2 separate regions of the Homo sapiens genome follow, and region 1 is linked to region 2. The links are contacts of gene promoters, found by promoter capture Hi-C in human tissues and cell types (Jung and others, 2019). All regions are on one chromosome and are shown on one strand. The core of a region is centred on a gene start or on the middle of the fragment in contact, and the rest is flanking DNA. Distances in the headings are between cores, read along the strand shown. Region 1 overlaps GPN2 (GPN-loop GTPase 2). Region 2 holds the start of CD52 (CD52 molecule).

Evidence for each region. Contacts are between HindIII fragments. The study calls those that stand out against the background at their distance.
Region 1: a contact is called between a fragment that was not itself captured here and the fragment with the promoter of CD52 in region 2, in 1 of the 25 tissues and cell types used here (lymphoblastoid cells).

The regions. Positions count from the first base shown.
Region 1 is chr1:26,879,414-26,885,585 of GRCh38, forward strand. GPN2 (GPN-loop GTPase 2) reads right to left here. Exons shown (of 5, transcript NM_018066.4): 4 at 4,747-4,877; 5 at 1-336. The coding sequence ends at 264. Among named protein-coding and RNA genes, the nearest start is that of GPN2-AS1, 6.4 kb to the left of the region's middle. The HindIII fragment of the contact is 7,583 bases long and covers 566-6,172 here.
Region 2 is chr1:26,313,133-26,319,628 of GRCh38, forward strand. It overlaps CD52 (CD52 molecule), which reads left to right and starts at 4,826. Exons shown (of 2, transcript NM_001803.3): 1 at 4,826-4,939. The coding sequence starts at 4,886. It also overlaps a transcript of UBXN11 not described here. RefSeq lists a silencer at 4,616-4,808 and enhancers at 4,883-4,952, 5,083-5,232, 5,606-6,496, 5,733-5,832. The HindIII fragment of the contact is 5,127 bases long and covers 3,186-6,496 here.

The sequences.
Region 1 (6,172 bases), core at 3,107-5,606, 570 kb after region 2:
ATCACAGCCTGACTAGGACCAGTGCTCGACTTTCTGGTGGCAGGGCCCAGAGCTCACGGACACCACTGACAGTATGGGGGGTGTTCTGCTTGGCACCATGTCTGGCTTTTTGGCCAGAAGTCCTTTGCAGAGCTGAATATCCCCTTGCCAGCCCGCCAGCTCTGGCTGGGAGGACTTGCTCTTGGGTCTGCAGCCTGCATCAGGAGCCTCCACTTTCCCCAGTGCTGGATTATGCATCCTGCTCTCCAGGGTCCACCTTGTTGCTACAGCTGCATGGCTTCCTGCTCCACTGACTGGTTCGAGGGTGCCAGGTACTTCTCCTGGATGCCCAGTGTGCTGAGGAAGGGTGCGTCAAGGCTGATAGCATAGGCAGAGGATGGGGAGCTGGTCTGGGCAGGATCTGACTTCCGCTGATGCCTACACTCCAACCATGTCCATCCCTCTCTTCCTCATAATTATAGGGACCAATCAGGTATGAGAAGCCTCCAAAAACACCCAGACTCAAATGCTCCTCTATCTGCCTCTTCCACACACTGCTGCGGATCAAAGGACTGGACAGTACTAACCTTGCAATTTTGCGTTATGGCACATGCTCTGGAGCCAGACTAAGGGAGTTCAAAACCTGATGATGTCTGGGTCTGGGGTCTGACGAGGACATGGAGGTTAGCCATGGCTAGGTTGGCTATGTTAGGACACCATGGCTGTTGTACTACCAGATGGCTCCAAAGTAAGAAACAGATTCTACACCCACCAAAACCAAGGTTTGAACTGTTCTTCCAAAACATCCCGGGAGAGGGACCTTGGGCCTGTCGCCTCAATTATAAAAGGGGTTGAAATGAGGATTAAATGACCCTGCAAGTAAAGCACTTAGCCCACCAAATGATGTTCGAGTTACAGACCTTTCTTTTTCTTTTTTTTGAGACAGAGTCTCACTCTGTCACCAAGCTGGAGTGCAGTGGCGCGATCTCGGCTCACCGCAACCTCCAACTCCCTGGTTCAAGCAATTCTCCTGCCTCAGCCTCCAGAGTAGCTGGGACTACAGGTACATGCCAGCACACCCAGCTAATTTTTCTATTTTTAGTAGAGACAGGGTTTCACCATGTTGACAGAAATGGTCTCGATCTCCTGACCTCGTGATCCGCCCGCCTTGGCCTCCCAAAGTGCTGGGATTACAGGCGTAAGCCACCACGCCTGGCCAAAAATAAATTTTTATACTTTAAAAAAAAAAAAGAGAGAGAGATGGGGTCTCACTATGTTACCCAGTCTGGTCTCAAACTCCTGGCCTTGAGCAATCCTCCCACCTTTAACTCCCAAAGTGTTGGAATTACAGGCATGAAGCCATTACACTTGGCCCATGCCATCTTATTTGCAACCCTTGAAACCTGTCTCAACTTTGAACCCCTATGCCTTTGCATGTTCTCTTAACTTGAATTCCCTTTTCTTCTTCATTAGACTGGCTAACCCTCACCTTGAAATGACACAACTCACGTGTCATGCCTCCATAAAGCTTTCCTTACCCACCTACCCTTCAGCAAAGCTGACCACTCCCTTATTTGTATCAGTCCCTACTCTCTTACAGAGAGCTGCTGAATCTTAAGGGGGTTAGGGTCAGGGCAGAATCTAAAATCAGCACAAATGTATATGGTTAAAAATACTCTTTAAAATTCCTCAAATTATTTGTTAAATGCAGCATACATGGTTTTGTGAATAGAATCCTTTATATATACGAATACATAAAGTAACGTACAGATGCTCCTTGACTTATGATGGGGTTACATCCTGATAAACCCATCCTAAATCAAAAATATCTTAAGTCGAAAATGCATTTAATACACATAACCTACCACACATCATAGCTTAGTTTCGCCTACCTTAAATATTCTTAGAACACTTACGTTAGCTGCATTTGGGCAAAATTATCTAACACAAAGCCTATTTTACAATAAAGTATTGAATATCTCATGTAATTTATTGAATACTGTACTGAAAGTGAAAGAATGATTGATAGGTACCCAAAGTATGATTTCTACTGAATGCATATAGCTTTCACACCATCATAAAGTTGAGCCATCATAAGTTGGGAACCATCTGTACGGTGTACAAAATACTACATTATTTAAATTGCTTCTCCCAGCCTAGGCTGTATGGTGAAACCCCATCTCTACAAAAATTAGCTGGCCACAGTGGCACACGCCCATAGTCCTAGCTATTCAGGAGGCTGAAGTGGGAGGATCACTTGAGCCCAGGGAGGTCAAGGCTGCAGTGAGCTGAGATCACGCCACTGCACTCCAGCCTGGGCAACAGAGTGAGACTCTGCCTCACAAAATAAACAAACATAAACTGCCCTTCCCAGCTGGGGACGATGGCTCATGCCTGTGATCCCAGCACTTTGGGAGGCTGAGGTGGGAGGGTAACGAGCCCAGGAGTTCAAGGTCGCAGTGAGCTATGATTGCATCACTGCACTCCAGCCTGGGCAAAGGAGCAAGACCCTGCCTCTAAGAAATAAATATAAAAGTTGCAGGCCGGGCATGGTGGCTCACGCCTATAATCCCAGCACTTTGGGAGGCCAAGGCAGGTGGATCACCTGAGTTCAGGAGTTCGAAACCAGCCTGGCCAACATGGTAAAACGCTGTCTCTACTAAAAATACAAAAAATTAGCTGAGCGTGGTGGCGGGCGCCTATTATCCCACTTACTCGGGAGGCTGAGGCAGGAGAATTGCTTGAACGTGGGAGATGGAGGTTGCAGTGAGCTGAGATTGCACCATTGCACTCCAACTGGGGCAACAAGATTGACGGTCCGTCTCAAAAAAAAAAAAAAAAAAGGGCCAGGTGTGGTGGAGCATGCCTGTAATCCCAGCTACTTAGGAGGCTGAGGGAGGAGAATCACTTGAACCCTGGAGTTGGAGATTGCATTCCAGCCTGGGCAACAACAGCAAAAGAAAGTCCATCTTAAATTTAAAAAAAAAATTGCTCCTCCCCTCTTTTGCTGAGCACATGCAGTCCAATTGGCCTACATTAACTGCAGGTGTGACGCAGCTCCTTAGTACCTTCATCAGGGACTGCACACTCTACTGCCATCATTTATAAGTCATTCCTCCAACCCCGACCCCATGAGCTTTGTTTCCCACATATGGCTCGAGAAACATCAGTAAGTGTTGGCTGGAATTATTTTCCTCTATACCCTAAGACTCCTGAGTCCCCCTTGTCTCCAGCATGCTGCATAGATGCTGAATCTGTGAGAGCATCAGCCTAGAGGGCCTGGACTTTTCTGTCCTGCTTCACGCATGGCCTCTGTGACCTGATGGACACCTACCCATGACCTTGGCTCCAGCCTCATTAGTCACTAACCAAGCTCCAAAAGTCTGGCTGCCTCTTGGACAGCTCTGGATGTCCCATGGACCCCTGAACACAGCACATCTGCCAGCTCTTGTCCCTTTCATCCATGTGACAAACCTGCTCCCTCCTCCTTTTCCTGCCTCAGTGATTAGTACAACCACCCACCGTCTAAGCCAGAGATCTGGGAAGCTAAGTTCTACTCCAGCTCCATCTATCCCATTCAGTCACTGACTCTTACAGTCTATCTCCTTAGTATTTTTCCATTCTACACCTTTCTTTCTATTCTCACTACAAATCTTTCAACCCTTCTCACCTAGCAAGACTGTAAAACTCTTTTGCCCCCAATCACGTCCCTTAAATGCATTTTCCACAATTGCAGGGGCTTTTCTAAAATGTACATCTGATTGTGTCACACCCTGTTCAACAGTACTGCTTGAATACTTGCTCCCACTGCCCACCCATGAACTGAAGTCCACATTCCTTAGTAGGGCACTCAGGCCCCTCCCTCGGCAGCCCTGCCTGTACCCCTGCAACGCCCTTTCCTCTTCACATGCAACACACCAGGAACTGGACTCCTGCATCTCTCCCGAATGACTAATGCCCTCTCATTTCTGGGCCTCTGTATTTGTTACTCCTATTGATCAATATCCTCTCTTGTCCTCAGTACAACCAACTCTGAAGCCAAGGGACCACCTTTGCACATGAGAGACAGTCATCAGGAAGCCCAACTGATCAATATGAAATCAGTCATCCACGGCCGGGCGCAGTGGCTCATGCCTGTAATCCCAGCACTTTGGGAGGCTGAGGCAGGTGGATCACCTGAGGTCAAGAGTTCCAGACCAGCCTGGCCAACATGGTGAAACCCCGTCTCTACTAAAAATATAAAAACTAACTGGGCACAGTGGCGCACACTAATACCAGCTACTTGGGAGGCTGAGGCAGGAGAATTGCTTGAATATGGGAGGCAGAGGTTACACAGAGCCAAGATTGCGCCATTGTGCGATCCAGCCTGGGCAACAAGAGCGAAACTCCCTTTCAAAAAAAAAAAAGAAAAAAGAAATTGGGTGGATCACAAGGTCAGGAGATCAAGACCATCCTGGCCAACACAGTGAAACCCCGTCTCTACTAAAAATACAAAAAATTAGCTGGGCGTGGTGGTGGGTGGCTGTAGTCCCAGCTACTCAGGAGGCTGGGGCAGGAGAGTGGCGTGAACCCGGGAGGCAGAGCTTGCAGTGAGCTGAGATCGTGCCACTGCACTCCAGCCTGGGCGACAGAGCAAGACTCCATCTCAAAAAAAAAAAAAAAAAAAGAAATTGGTCATCCACAAGGTTGATGACTGCACCTCCTGTGGCCATTCTTGAGTCCCATGTCTCACCCTCTCTGCTATGGCCAGGAAGCTGGCAAGGATACGAAGAGAAATGGAAGTCGGCTCCCATTGCGGCAGACATCATGGCTTCCAAGCTTCGCTGCTCTTGGGCTCTGAAACAGTATCCATTGGCTTTATCCACAGCCTGCAGGACTCGCTGGATGCTCTCCTTGTCCTGAGCAGGGAGGAGAGAAACAGTTCTGTGAGTGAAACAGAAGTATGTAAAACTGCTTGCAATCTCTAAATACACCTTCCTCCATCTTGCCTCTGTACCTGTAGCTTTCTTGGCCTGGAGTAGTTCTACATGTCCCCAAAGGCTGGATAAATCTCATGTTTCCTGACCACCAACTCACTCAGATTAGAACAGATAAGCTCCCCTATGCATATCCACAGTCCCCTGGGTTTACACCTATTGTACATGGTATCCCTGCCATGTAATAAACGCCTATTAACTCACCTGCCTCCCCTACTCAACTAAACACCCCTTAGGGCCAGGTCATCTGTCGCAGTATTCCCAGTGCCTGGCACAGTACTTCTCTTAAGTAGACATCCAATGAATATGCATGTTTTAAATCTATAACTGGGCCAGGCACGGTGGTTCACACCTGTAAAGCCCAGCACTTTGGGAGGCCAAGGCAGGTAGATCACTTAAGGTCAGGAGTTCAAGAGCAGCCTGGCCAACATGGTGAAACCCTGTCTCTACTGAAAATACAAAAATTAGTTGGGCATGGTGATGGATGCCTGTAATCCCAGTTACTTGGGAAGCTGAGGCAGGAGAATCGGTTGAACCCAGGAGGCAGAGGTTGCAGTGAGCCAAGATAACGCACTGCACTCCAGCCTGGGTGACAGAGTGAGACTCCGTCACAAAAAACAAAACAAAACAAAAAAAAACTATAACTGTTTCCTCATCCACATACAGTGATAAGAACAGTCCATATATCACATGGTGGGAAGGACAAAGCAAAATTATGTATGTGTAGTCCTTAGCACAGTGCCCAGCACAGAAAGCCATAAATAAGAGGTAATTGTTGTGATTGATATTATAGAGTTCATCTCCTCATATCAGAAGAGTGTGGCATTAGAAGGGAGGAGACAAGTTAGCTCAAGTCCACCCACTGCAGAAAGGAATCTAACATGCACCTGCGTCTCCCAGGTTATCTCTGCAGGGTAAAGGTGAGAGGCACAGGGGTTGGGTACCACTTTGCAAAGTCAACAGACAGTTGCCCAGTTGAAAGGGCTTAAGAGACTTGTCCCTGGTCCTGGTGAACTTTCTTGCTGATGACTTTCTGAACTCACCCATTTTCACAGAGGACAGAACATGTGAAGAGAGGATCCAGCAACACAAAATAGACAGGGCAAAAGTTTGGTCCACTCTCTTTACTGGAATTCTGCCCCTACAGCAGCCCCTGGTCCTGAAACTAAGGTTACTCTCAGTGATACTCAACCCAGGGCAAAGACCACTCTTTTTTT
Region 2 (6,496 bases), core at 3,576-6,075:
AATTCAAGGCGGATCACACTGTGACGTGTGCTATAACTCTCTTCTCCTTCCTCCCTCCCTGCTGTATTCCATTCTATCATTGACCAAGGACATTTGGAGAACCTGGCCTATGTGAGACTGTGCTAGGCCCCAGGGACAGTCATCAAAAGACACTGTGGAACTGGGATGGAATTGTGATCTAAGGTGCTTTGCATGCCTGGTCTTCTCTTGTTCTGCAGGTCTCAGCACACACATTTCCTCTGAGTGGTCTTTCCTGACCACTGACCTAGAATATATCCTCCCCACATTTCACTTCTTCTTCTTCTCACATTACCCCCTTGATTTCCTGATGCCATTTGTGAACATCTGAAATTACCATTGTTTTTTATTAGTCTTCCCCCACTCAAATATCAGCTCCATAATAGCAGGGACCATGTCTTTATGTCACTGTTGTATTCCCAGTGCCTAGTTCAGTACCTGGTACACAGCAGGCACCCAATAAACACATTCTGCTCTAATAATACTTTCTTACGATCTTTACTTCACTTCACTAATTTTCTCTTCAGTTGTGCCCAATCTGATGTTAAACCTATCCACTGAGTTCCTAATTTTTATTACCATATTTCTCAGTTCTAGAATTTCCATTTGGTTCTTTACTATAATTTTTTTTCTTTTTTTTTTTTTTTTGAGACTTAGTCTTGCTCCATCGCCCAGGCTGGAGTGCAGTGGCACGATCTCGGCTCACCACAAGCTCTGCCTTCCAGGTTCATGCCATTCTCCTACCTCAGCCTCCCGAGTAGCTGGGACTACAGGTGCCCGCCACCATGCCTGGCTAAGTTTTTGTATTTTTAGTAGAGATGGGGTTTCACTTTGTTAGCCAGGATGGTCTCGATCTCCTGACCTTGTGATCGACTCGCCTCGGCCTCTCAAAGTTCTGGGATTACAGGTGTTAGCCACCGCGCCCGGCCGGTTCTTTACTATAATTTCTAGTTCTCAATCTTGTCCTGCTGCTCAGAGGGCAGAAGAGGAAAATGTCTTTAAGTAAGCATAGTTATTTGAAAATTTGATTGATTATTCCATTATCTGGATCTTTTGTATAACTTTCTATTATCTGTTTCTGCTTTTTGGTCATGTTGTCTTCAATTTCTTTGAGGGTTGGGCTGTTGTTTCCTGTTTACTCTCACTCCCCGTGGTCCAACCCAAAGCCTAGGTGGGGGGAGTTTGTCAGGGCTCCCCTTTCTTAGAGAATCTAGAACTATAGTTTTTCTCCCATACATTTGTAAGTATGTGAAGATGAGAAAGCTCAGCTCAGTTTCTCAGCTGTCCCCTCTGCAAGTGGCATACTTTTAGGAGGAAAGCAGCTCCATATAAAGGGCTTGCTTCTCTCAGTCCCTTATTTCTTTTCTGCATTGGTAACTTTTCAGTACTGACTTTACTGTTGCCCCATAGTAAATATTTACTGGATGAATAAATGCAGGACTACTAGGCTCGGAGGTGGGAATAGATCTAGATGAATACACGCACTCATTCTTCCGGCAGTCCCTGACACCTACACTGTGCCATGTTCTGTGCTTCGCTGAGTAAGAGAAGTGACAAAATCTAGTCCCAACCCACAAGGGACAGACCATATTCTTGGTAGACACAATCTTTAGAACAGAGGTCAACAGAAAGGGCCCTTCGAACATTTAGGAACTTTGAGTTTCCTAGGGAAAGTGGAAAGTTTCCCTGGGGAAGGGGCTTCTAAGCTAAATCTTGAAGAATAAAGAAGAGTTTGCAGTCTGGGCAACATAGCAAAACTCCACCCTCCACCACCCCAAAAATTAGCTGGGCATGGTGGCATGCACCTGTAGTCCCAGGTACTTAGGAGGATGAGGCGGGAGGATTGCTTGAGCCCAGGAGTTCGAGGTTACAGTGAGCTATGATTGCACCACTTGTACTCCAGCCTGGGTGACAACGGCAAGAACCTGACTCGAGGGGAAAAAAAAAGAGTTTGCCAGGTAAAATAATTGGAGAAGGGCTTTCCTTGCAGAGGAAATACATGGACTGTAGAAGATACTCCTCAGGGTGTCAGGAGGTGAAAATGAAGCTTCTGAGGTTTGCAAGAAAATGTTTACAAATAAGAGTCTGGCATTTAGTATCCTCGCATGCATCTCCAGCATGGGAAACTATAACACGGCTGGCCCCAGGCTCGTCCTGTCTGGCTGCCTCTTTGTAAGAGGGGAGAAGATTGCACAGTGTGATGGAGCTCATTTTCAGCAGAGTAATCTCAGACTTCAACACGGGTATCCTGTCTTCTGGGCTGGTGCCCTTCTGGCACAGGACACCTCCCTGACTCTCATGAACCCCAGAATCACTCACCCCCACAGGCACACCAAAGACAGCTGAGAACTTGAGTCAAGGGTGAGGAGAGACCTCTGGGTGAAAGGGCAGGGATGGGGAAAGAGGGTGATGGATGGCTGGGGACTCCTCCCTCTTCTCTCCCTCCCCGCCCCTCCCTCTCCACTTCCTGGCTTTCTCTCATCAGCTTTGACTCTCAGTTCTTCTTTTCTTCTCTTCTCTTTTTTTGAAATGGAGTTTTTCTCTTGTCGCTCAGGCTGGAGTGCAATGGCACGATCTCGGCTCACTGCAACCTCCTTCTCCCGGGTTCAAGTGATTCTCCTGCCTCAGCCTCCCGAGTAGCTGGGATTACAGGCATGTGCCAGCACACCTGGCTAATTTCTGTATTTTCAGTAGAGACAGGGTTTCACCATGTTGGCCAGGCTGGTCTAGAACTCCTGACCTCAGGTGATCCACCCACCTCGGCCTCCCAAAATGCTGGGATTACAGGCGTGAGCCACTGTTTCCTGGCCTTTTTTTTTTTTTTTTTGAGACAGGGTCTTGCTCTGTCACCCTGGCTGGAGTGCAGTGCCACAATCATGGCTCATTGCAGCCTGGGCCTCCCAGGTGCAAGCAATCCTCCTGCGTCAGCCCCCAAGTAGCTGAGACTATAGGTTTGTGCCACTATGCCCGGCTAATTTTTTTTTTTTTTTTTTTTTTTTTTGAGAGATGGGGCCTTCCTATGTTGCCCGGGTGGTCTCAAACTCCTGTGCTCAAGTTATCTGCCCGCCTCAGCCTCCCAAACTGCTAGGATTACAGGCGTAGCCCCTATGCCCAGCCTCTGTTTTTTTCTTTGGACTCAGCCTCAGCCAGATCTCCCCTGGGCTTGCAACACAAGGCCCAAAACAATAGAAGAGAAGTGAGGGGAGTTTTCCCTTTACTACCTAGCATGTAAATGAGGCCTAAAGTAGACTAAGGAAGGGAGAGTGTGAAGGGAGAGTGGGCCAGAGCTGGGGTTGTGGTGACCAACTCCTGGGGCCTGGGGGGAGTTTGTGTAGGGGAGGGGGAGGGAGTGGCAGGGAATCAAGACTTAATGGATGAATTCTAGGGCAGCCCCAGAGGTTACATACATGGCTGTGGCTTCAGACAGACCTGGATTCAAGGTCAAATGAGACTGGCTCCACCATTTACGACCTTAGCAAGTCACTTAACATCTAAGCCTCAGTTTTTTCACCAGTCAAATGGGGATAAACATAACACCTGCTGCAGGGCACCACAGAGGGTATCAAGTGAGGGAATGCATAAAGCATGGAGCACTATCCAGGCAGCTGTGGGATTCCTCTCATCCCCCCACCCCTCCCTGGGCCCTCACAGCCACTCTCTCACCCCAGTCCCCTTCCACTGTAGCTTAGTCACCCACTTGTCCCTTCCCTCGCTCCCCTCCCATTCATCCTCAGCTAATACAAACAACCCATCTGCTTGCTACTTTCTCTACCAAAATCACAAAATTCTAGGTCTTGGCTGGGCGCGGTGGCTCATGCCTGTAATCCCAGCACTTTGGGAGGCCGAGGCAGGCGGATCACTTGAGATCAGGCATTCGAGACTAGCCTAGCCAACATGGTGAAACCCAGTCTCCGCTAAAAAAAAAAAAAAAATACAAAAAATTAGCCAGGCATGGTGGCACACACCTGTAGTCCCAGCTATGCGGGAGGCCAAGGCAGGATAATTGCTTGAACCCAGGAGGTGGAGGTTGCAGTAAGCCGAGATCATGCCAGTGCACAGAGCAAAACTCTGTTTAAAAAAAAAAACAAAAAAACCAACAACAACAAAACAAAACACTAGGTTTTAACAAACTTCAGAAATAATCTATTTCAGTCTTCCCAGTTCCTTGAAATGAGGAACTGAGGCCTAGAGAGGGAAAGCCCAACTGAAACCAGGCTTCCCGATTCCTCACCTCCAGCACCTTCACAGAAATCCACCAACCCTTCCACAATCTAAACATTTCCCAAGCTTTCATTCAGAACCTGCAGCCCATCTACAACCTTCCCTTGAAACATAAATCTATCCCAGCCCTTCTCCTTCAGCTCCTATACCCTGCCCCAATCTTCTTTAAACAACAAACTCATTTACGGAATATCTGCTATGTTCTGGCTCTTTTTAAATTGGTTATTATTACATGTAATCCGGCAGTTCTTTTGTTAAAGGGTCAGAGAGGTAGAGTTTCTGGCCCAGGGTCTCAGAGCTGGTCAGTGATTAAACCAGGATTCAGCCTGCAGGATGCATGATTCCAGGCCTTGGGCCCTACTTACTCCCACCGTTGCCTCTGGATTGACCTCTCTCCTATCTTGTACGATCTAGCCTGCTCCCCCAGCCAGGGCCTTAGAACCTAGAGCCTGGTATTATCCACCCCCAGATCTGCAGAAAGGAAGCCACACCCCTCCTCCACCTTGTAAGCCCTCCTTCCTCTCCCTACCTCACCCCGCCTCCTCTGCCTCCTGGTTCAAAAGCAGCTAAACCAAAAGAAGCCTCCAGACAGCCCTGAGATCACCTAAAAAGCTGCTACCAAGACAGCCACGAAGATCCTACCAAAATGAAGCGCTTCCTCTTCCTCCTACTCACCATCAGCCTCCTGGTTATGGTACAGGTAAGAGCAACGCCTGGCACCACTGCCAGGACTCCCCAAAGTTGCTTGGCATGGAGGGAGGGCATACAGGATGTGAGCTCCCAGAGACCCAGCCTTCTCTCCTGAGAGCACAGCAGATGGACTCCAACAGGAAAACTGGGGACACAGCGGGCCTGGCCGCCCAGCCTTCCAGCTCTTCTGGCTGGGGCTGCACTGCTTGCGGGCTGCCCTGAGAGAAACCTGTATCCACAGCTGGGGAGCACTTACAGGGTGCTAGGCGCGTTGGGGCACCCAAGGGGTGTTGTGGAATAATAGAGAACTAAGAGACTTGGGAAGACAACCCTGAGTGAGGAAGGCATCGGCCCACAGGGAGTCTGGGGAGATGGTCCTTTGGGGAGAGGCCAGGAGATGTCCAAGTGGAGCCTGCTGTGGTTATGGAGGTGACAGGGGACACTCTAACCCCCACTCCCCTGCCAGAGAGAAGCCTGGATGTTCAGGAATGCAAAGAAGACAGGACTCTCCCATTTCAGAAACAACTGGAGTCTCAAAAGCGACTGCTATTCCAGGAGGCAGCTTTGGTAGCATCCCAGGTGCCCAGAGGGGAGTCAGTACAGCAGACCGGAGCCATCAAGTTCTTGATCAAGAACAGCTTGATCACCATCAAAACCAGCTTAATCTCCATCAAGAACAGTTCTAGTTGCAGCTCCATCAAGCATTAAGGACAGCTCGATCACCATCTGGCCACTTCCCCACCCCACATCCAGCCACCCACGCTTTGCCAAGTGCTTTCTCACTCAGCCCTGGCTCATGTGACCTTCACAACTGTGATGAACTTCTCCCCACTCAGAAGATGAAACTGAGGCTCAGGGAAGCTAAGCCCTTTGCCAGGCTAGGAAGGTCAAGGGCCAGGGCTCCCCTGTCTCCCTCTATGCCAGAAGGGCTGGTCGCTGGGGAAAGGTGAAAAGAAAGGTTCTGTGACCGGGCACGGTGGCTCACGCCTATAATCCCAGCACTTTGGGAGGCCGAGGCAGGCGGATCACCTGAGGTCAGGAGTTCAAGACCAGCCTGGCCAACATGACAAAATCCCGTCTCTACTAAAAATACAAAAATTAGCTGGGCGAGCCGGGCGCGCTGGCTCGCGTCTGTAATCCCAGCACTTTGGGAGGCTGAGGCGGGTGGATCATGAGGTCAGGAGATCGAGACCATCCTGGCTAACACATTGAAACCTCGTCTCTACCATAAATACAAAAAGAAATTAGCCGGGCGTGGCGTGGTGGCGGGCGCCTGTAGTCCCAGCTACTCGGGAGGCTGAGGCAGGAGAATGGCGTGAACCTGGGGGTGAAGCTTGCAGTGAGCCGAGATCACGCCACTGCACTCCAGCCTGGGCGGGCGACAGAGCAAGACTCTGTCTCGGAAAAAAAAAAAAAATTAGCTGGGCGTGATAGCGGCTGCCTATAATCCCAGCTACTCGGGAGGTTGAGGGGTGGAGGTTGCAGTGACCCGAGATCATGCCACTTCACTCCAGCCTGGGCAAAAGAGCGAAACTCTATCTCAAAAAAACAGAAAGTTTCTGTGAAA